Linked DNA regions of Homo sapiens: region 2 is linked to region 1. Evidence: promoter capture Hi-C in 16 types of primary human blood cells and fetal thymus (Javierre and others, 2016). All regions are on one chromosome and are shown on one strand. Each heading gives the region's core, a stretch centred on a gene start or on the middle of the fragment in contact. The rest is flanking DNA. Distances are from core to core; before and after follow the strand shown. Region 1 holds the start of CLDN19 (claudin 19). Region 2 overlaps CCDC30 (coiled-coil domain containing 30).

What was found. Contacts are between HindIII fragments. The CHiCAGO score rates a contact against its expected background, and 5 or more counts as called.
Region 2: a fragment that was not itself captured here is called in contact with the fragment with the promoter of CLDN19 in region 1 in 4 of 17 cell types (M1 macrophages, megakaryocytes, M0 macrophages and 1 more); the score reaches 6.5 in M1 macrophages.

The regions. Positions count from the first base shown.
Region 1 is chr1:42,738,448-42,742,120 of GRCh38, forward strand. It overlaps CLDN19 (claudin 19), which reads right to left and starts at 1,789. Exons shown (of 5, transcript NM_148960.3): 1 at 1,394-1,789; 2 at 1-138. The coding sequence starts at 1,616. RefSeq lists an enhancer at 3,146-3,673. The HindIII fragment of the contact is 4,341 bases long and covers 609-3,673 here.
Region 2 is chr1:42,472,034-42,475,706 of GRCh38, forward strand. All of the region lies in intron 1 of CCDC30 (coiled-coil domain containing 30), which reads left to right. It also overlaps a transcript of PPCS not described here. Among named protein-coding and RNA genes, the nearest start is that of CCDC30, 11 kb to the left of the region's middle. The HindIII fragment of the contact is 2,175 bases long and covers 693-2,867 here.

The sequences.
Region 1 (3,673 bases), core at 539-3,038:
CGATGGCAACACGGCCCTTGGCAATGGGGTTGCTGTCTCCCACCCGCGTACACTTCATGCCAACTACGCTGAGGACCATGGCCACGAAGCCCAGGAGCACGGCCACCACCATCAGGGCCCGCGCTGATTGGATGTGACCTAGGGTGGGCGGGATGACACTGAGTCGGGCTGGCGGGGATGGGGGTTGGGTCGGTGCCTGGGGTCGGTGGAAGGAGCCCAGCTTGAGAGGGGCTTGAGCAGGAGCTGGCCTGGGGGGTCAGACCACCTTCTGGCAGGTGCAGGATAGTGAGGAGTGACAGCCCGGGCATGAGGACAGGGTGTGGGGGTGAGAGTCCCCTTCACTGTCAACGCCATTCTCCACTCGCCCTTGCAGGCTTTTCCGGTAGTATGATTCACTCTGCTGTTGCTTTCTGGCCTGGGGACTCCCTCTTGGGCTTGGCCCATCCTCCCAAGCAGCTGAGGGCAGCTCCAGGGTCCCCTCAGGTTTGGTAGGTGGAAGAGCTGGGGGTATCTGAGGCCCAGCTCAACTCAGCCTGAGCCCCGCAGCAACCCCTCCCCAGCAGCCATTCAGACAACAGTCACTTTCCCCTCTGCCCATGGCAGCTGGAAGCTTGCCTCTTCACGGGTGCATGGGTCCATCCTGGGCCCTGGGGGGTGCTCAGGAGACCTGGGTCCCTCAGCGAGGCTAGATGACCTGCCTGAACTGACCTGCCTGAACTGGCACAATGGGGCTGGTTGAAGGCCGCTCTGCTCCCAGCTCCCATGGGGAGCAGATTGTCCCTGGGGGCTCCTGGGCAGATTGCAGGTGGATCACCTCCACCCCAGAGTTAGAACTTCGGCGGTGCCTGTCAGGCTCATCTCCACACCCCAGAAGGAGAGGGACTGCATGCAGACACACCTGTCTGTGCATGCATGTGCACGTGTGTGCGTGTGCATGCGTGTTTGCATGCATGTGCATGCACCCATATGCTGGCACACAGGCCTGGGAGCAGGACTAGGGAGCAGGTGTGCATCATACAGTGTGTGTCTGTCTACTGACTGTGGGGAGAAGTGGATGAAGGGTCTTAACTGAGTCTTTCAGAGTGCCACAGGTATTAGTATTCCCCTTTAGAGATGAGAACATCACAATGGGAAGAGGTTTGGTGACTAGTTCAAAGTTATAGTGACAGAGCAGGAATCTGGACCCACAGCCGCCAGACCCTAGAGCCCTCCCCTCCCACAGGGCAGCAGGCTGGCCTGGACCGTCAATGGGCACAGGGCAGTAGTGGGGGAATTGTAGAGCGGAGGCTGGAGGTTGGAGCCCAGCGCAGATAGCAGACTGTGAGGAAAACTTGCTCCAGACTCCCCTGCTGTTCCCACCTCCCATCTCCCACCCCGCCGGCCTGGGGCCTACCGTCCAGGGCGAGCAGCGAGTCGTAGAGCTTGCACTGCACTTGCCCAGTGCTCTGGGAGGCGCAGGACATCCAGAGCCCTTCATAGAGGCCCACGGCAGTGATGATGGCGTCGCCTGCGTAGGAAGACTGCTTCCACTGTGGCAGGGCTGTGCTAGCAATGATGCCCACCCAGCCACCCAGGGCCAAGAAGTAGCCCAGGAGCTGGAGGCCTGAGTTGGCCATGGCCCAGGAGAGAGGACCGAGGGTCCCAGGACTCAGAGCTGGGCCAGGGTGCCAGCAGGGGCTTTGGTCATGGCCAGGTGGGAGGAGCAGCTGGGCAGGGGGAGCAGCGAGAAGGAGGGTCAGAGGCAGAGAAGGAGAGGTGGTGCGGCGGCAGCGGCTGGAGCAAAGGCAGTGGCTCTGGACTCCAGAATGCAGGGGGAGGCCCAGGGGCTGGAAAAGGCCAGGGCCCGCCCACAGCAGCCGCCTAAGCCAGAGCAGGGTCCCCAGCAAAGCTCATGCCCAGCCCCCTGGGGGCGGAGGGCCGGCCCATGGCCCAGGTGGTGTCCCTGCCCCGCCCCGTTCCGCAGGGATAGGGAAGGGAGGGGCTGAGAGGAATGACCCAGCTGCCCTCTGGGCCTTTCCCCACAGGGAAACCCCTTTAGGAACCTGATTCGGGTGTCCTAAAATTCGGATAATCCCTAACCCAAACACCAGCCCTGGGAGGATGGACTTTGCTCTTGCAAGGCTGATCTAACCCTTGGGGTTTTCTGCCCTTTGACTTTAGGACAGAAGGGAAAGGAATGCCAGTTTGCAGCGGGTAAAACTAGAGTTAGATGTCAAGGATAACTTTTTGGCAGGGGCTCTGAAGCTGGATGTGGGGAGGCTGAGCTAGCGGTGGGGTGTTGGGAAGAGGGGTCATGGGTACCTGGGAGCTGTGTGTGCCAAAAATCAGGGAGGCCAGACCAGGAAATATGTACTGTGGGGTCTTTTTGAGATCTGAGGGGGACAGAAAAGGGGCCCTATCGAGGCTGGGCCAGCGCTGGCTGCCGGCCAGCAAGGGGCCTGGTGGGGAGCTGGGGAGACAGCCCCAACCTTCTGGCATCAGCCTGAAGGAAGGCGGATTGCTCAGCCCCTTAATCCCCTTGCTGGCTGGCTTAGTAGCTCCTGCTGGGACTGGAACACTGGGCCCTGGCCCCCAACTCTAGAGCAGCCTGGCGCGGAGCAGTGGCCTCTGCACATTCCCGGGGTTCAGGCTGCCCGCTCCGAGCACCCCCACCTCCCTCTTCTCTCTCCCAGTCTCTCTTGGTCTTCAGGAGTAGGGGAATGTTTAACTCTCTTCCACCTCATTAGCAATCCCCTCACGTTCAAGTGGGCCCCACTGCAGCGTGGGTGCAGAAGGAATGTCACAACCCTGCTTCCACTCCTGCCAGCCCCCCGCCGCCCCCTCCGTCCCCAACAGCCCACCCACCCTTCCTGGACTGCACTGGGGGAAGGCAGGGTCCTGCTGCAGACCCCTGCTGGCTTCCTCCCCCACAGCCCCAACCCCCCTCTGAAGGGACAAGTCCCCAGCCCGCTCTTGCATTCTTCACGTGGCTATGCAAACGAGAGGGTGCCAGGCGCTGAGCAGACAATGGCAGCCCTGTGTGCCCGCCCAGGGCGTAGGCCTCTGGTATGGCCTGCAGCTCTGGCCAGAGATGGGGGAGTGGTCTGCCATCTGAGGGTCAAGGGTGGGCACTGCTTGACCTGTGGTGGTGCACACTGGGACCCTCAGGCTCTCTGTGCTGGGAGGGTCAGAGCCACGTGGATCCGAGCACACACAGACCTGCTTCCTGGACGACCTGTGGGTCCCAAGACCAAATGGGGTCTAGGACAGTGGCAGAGAAGTAAGTCCTGAGCTCAGATTCTTCTACCACAATGACAAGACAGTAGGATTGAGGGGAGCCTCCTCCATCCTACTGGGGCCGCAATGGGCACCCTGTGACCAGTGCATTAATTTAAGCATGTGGGCCACTGTTGCAGGCAGCAGGCCTCCTAACAGTAAGGAGACCACGGCAGAGGGAGGTAATAGACCCCCAGCCAGGAAACAGCAGGAAGGGCTTTCCGCTTGAAACTGTGTGGTGCTGGCCCCTGTGGTCTCTCTCCCACACTCCTCCCTTTTTGAGGGAGGCACCAGGTCCAGATTGAAGGGGGCTGCGGGCAGTGACAAGATGCTCCCCAGGGGTGACCTGAATGACTGTGGTGCCTCAGGGTCCTCACTCTAAATGGGAGGTTTGCTTCATGGAGTTGTGGTGGTCCGT
Region 2 (3,673 bases), core at 530-3,029, 270 kb before region 1:
ACTTGAGGTCAGGAGTTCGAGACGAGCCTGACCAACATGGTGAAACCTCGTCTCTACTAAAAATACAAAAATTAGCCAGGTGTGGTGGCACACACCTGTAATCCCAGCTACTCAGGAGGCTGAGGCAGGAGAATCACTTGAACCCAGGAGGCAGAGGTACAGTGAGCTGAGATCACACCACTGCACTCCAGCCTGGGCAACAGAGGTAGACTCCATCTCAAAGAAAAAAAAATAGTTAGTGGCTCTAGTAACACAGATATCACTTCATCGATCAGCAGATATTTATCTTTCATATACTGTCATACTGCAAACTGTTATGTCATGATTACTTGCAACCTAAAAAAATTGATATTGATAGCAGGCTTAGACCAAGAAGTTGCAGAAAAGAACTGAATTAATGAGAAGTCAACATAAATTATAAGACATATTCTGTGAGTAAAATAAATCCTGGATAGTATAGAATTAGGGGCCTCTCTAGCTTCCAGAGGAATCCTTTTATTTCTAAATATGCAATAAAAGGAACAAAGACTTCTTTGGACTTTAAAAAAGAAACAAGAGCCCTTTGGGAGACTTTTCAGATAAAAGTTGCAAACTTTAGAACAGACAGAAAAGCTTTTTTTTTTTCCATTGTACATAATTTTCATTAAGTATATCATGTCATTTGTTATTTTAGAAGATACACAGTTGTTCAAAGCTTACATTTTTCGGTATTACCAGCTGTTTCATTTAAGTGCTCATAACTAGATAACAACAGGAAAAGTAAAATATACATTGTAGAGAGTCTGACTCTAGTCATATATACATAGACTTCTTTATTCCTGCTTTCAGTTTTCCTCACATAGCAGCTTTGTATGTGTATTGCCAGCTATATTTTGTTCTTTAGAAATATCTTGGATTTTCCAAGATATATATACATACACATACATAAGTGTGATGAAGGTTCAGGTAGCTTACTAGCTTTCTATTGCTAGTACCCTAAAGACTAGTACTCTAATAAGGAGACTAAGGTGGCACCCACATAGATATCTTGCATCCTCAGTTGTGTGTGTGTGTGTGTTCATATACATATGCTTATTTCTTCTATCAAGGGAAAAGTTCAGTTAGAAGACATACTTCACCATCTTGAAAAAGAAGAAATCAATCCCCTTGCTACTACAGAAGAACAACTCTGTTTGGTGCTTATTCCAGCCAGCACAGTGAAGACAGGCTGAGGACTGCTACCACAGATGTAGAAGAGCTTATAGTGAAGCACATGGGTGAAACAAAAGAAGTGAGAACTAATAGCATAGAATTTTAAAGACACCTGTGATTTTGTTCATTGCCCTTCATTAAATTGACATATTAAAAACTAATGTTTGGCTATCACTGTATAGTTTGAAAAGCACCCACGTGTAGACCTTTTTTTTTTTCTAATGAAACATGGCAACAGTCTGTGTTGGTTTCCATTAAGACTCCATGTATAGGATGTTGCCCAGTGATGACTGGCTGAACATCTAAACAGGACTGCTCCAGGTAGCTTTCATTATCTTGGTAAAGTCATCCTTCTCTCAGGAGCTGACCTTCTAGGTGACTCTTTTTTTTGAAGGCTTGGAAACTAATGTCGGCATAGTATCAGTGGATCTGCTTCTCAAAGGTGGGCTTGTATTAACCAAAGTCATAGAGATGAGACACCTCCTTTTTAATTGACAATAAGAAATATAATTGCCAGAGGAACTAAACATGTATTTTTGGTGGCTGATGTATTCTCTTACAGGCACATTATGTGGGAAGCCAACTTTTAATTAGATGTTTACTTGGTGAACAAATGATTCTAACTTTTTATAGCATTGGCTGAGATAGCCAGGTTTCCACAATAGGGCTATCTATATCTACCCTCGTTTCTGGACCTCATATCCTAGGACCAGGCACCTAGTGCTTAGAGGAGTAGATAAAGCTATTTTTTTTTTGGCCCTATTGTTACTCTCTTGGATGTTTCCAATACTCATCAACATACTTTCTTTAAATGAACTAATGAATTATCTCAGGTTGCCTGGGAATCACTCTGCTATGTTTTCACATCTCAGCTTCACACAGGTAACATTTTTAAATTTAATTCTTAAAGGACAATCCAATCTCCAAATTCTAAAGAAGAATGCAGCTCCTTTAGAATGAAAAGCAGTATAGCATCATAGAGTGTGAACTTTAACATTAGGCAGATGGGGGTGAAAAGTTGCCTTTAGCATTATCTTTCTGTTTAACTCTGGGCAAGTTACTCAACTGCTTTGAGCTTGAAATTTCTGTCTGTAAGATAGAGATGTTAATAGCATCTTCAAAGGGATTTGTGAGATTTATACAGGTTAGTGTGTATAAATTACCCATGTACTTGGCACCTAGCAAGTGTTCAATAAATGATAGCTATTATCATTAGAAATGGATATTGTTCCTGCCATTTTAAAGAGGAAACGAAAGTTTGCCAGGAAGTGATAAAGTTGAACTGTGATTCCTATGTTCCTTCTATACTATTCATCTTTCTGTACATATTTTAAGGAGTTTTCCTATAGGCTTCCAAAGAATTCACCAAAATGCAATTCAGTTATTTCGGTAGTCTACTTCTAAGCACTTTGGCGTACTAAGAACTCAGTCTCTGGTTTCTACCCATCAGAGTATGAATTCTAGCTCCTCCCCTTATTCCCTATGTGACAAGGCAAGTCTCTTAGCCTCTCTAAGCCTGCTTCTTCACCTCCAAAGTGGGAGAATAATAGTCCCATGTGGTTGTGGAGACAATTAAATATTTGATGTACTTAATATAGTGCCTGGAGCATATTCGCTTTCTACCTGTTATTATGCACATAAAAGTAGCTTTTTGTGAAGCCGTTATATTAACTGCAAGCTTTTCAAAGAATACACAACAATTTTTAATGTAATCTCCTGTTAACATTTAATCATCTTAGCCATCAGTTTCAGCATAGCAGTATAAACCTAATTATTATGTAGATTTTTTTCTGTTCATGGATATCATGACCATATTTCCTAAACCACAGAGAGGGAAACTTGATTTAAAACCTGGTATGTTGATAGAAAAAAATATTAGAGATTGGGACTGTCCCAGAAATTTGTGGTTACATGTCATCATACCTATGGGAAACATAGTGTATGATAATGTAAGACAGCTGGAAGGGAGTTTAGAGCCAGATGCCAACACTTGAGGAAAGCTGAGTTTTCTGTTGATTTCTCAGATTATAGTCATGATAGAATGGTGATCTCTTAATTGCTCTTTCACTTCCCGGACCTTTAATATGGATTAAAATATGAGCCATGGACTAAAAGTAAGAAAATGTGTTTTTTTTAGGTGGAAAATTATGCAAACTGTATTTGTAACCTAACAGAGGGAAGAGAAGCATTTTTTCATGGTTATGATGAAAAGGAAAATGAACAGCTTAGACATGAGTTTAAAGAGCTCCAACTCAAACAGAGTTGTTTTTCCTTTTGTGGGCATGTCATTTTAAAACTTCTTCCCTAATTCTAGAAATTAACATATGACATTATAGAAAATTTGAGAAATGTATGCTCTTATAAAGAAGGGAAAAATTATATCTTCTACCCCAAGAAAAGTATAATACTTCTAATGTTTTAAGTGTATTTTCTGCCTGTCTTTTAAAAAAGTATGTATTCTGAAATAGTCTGAAATGTGTAT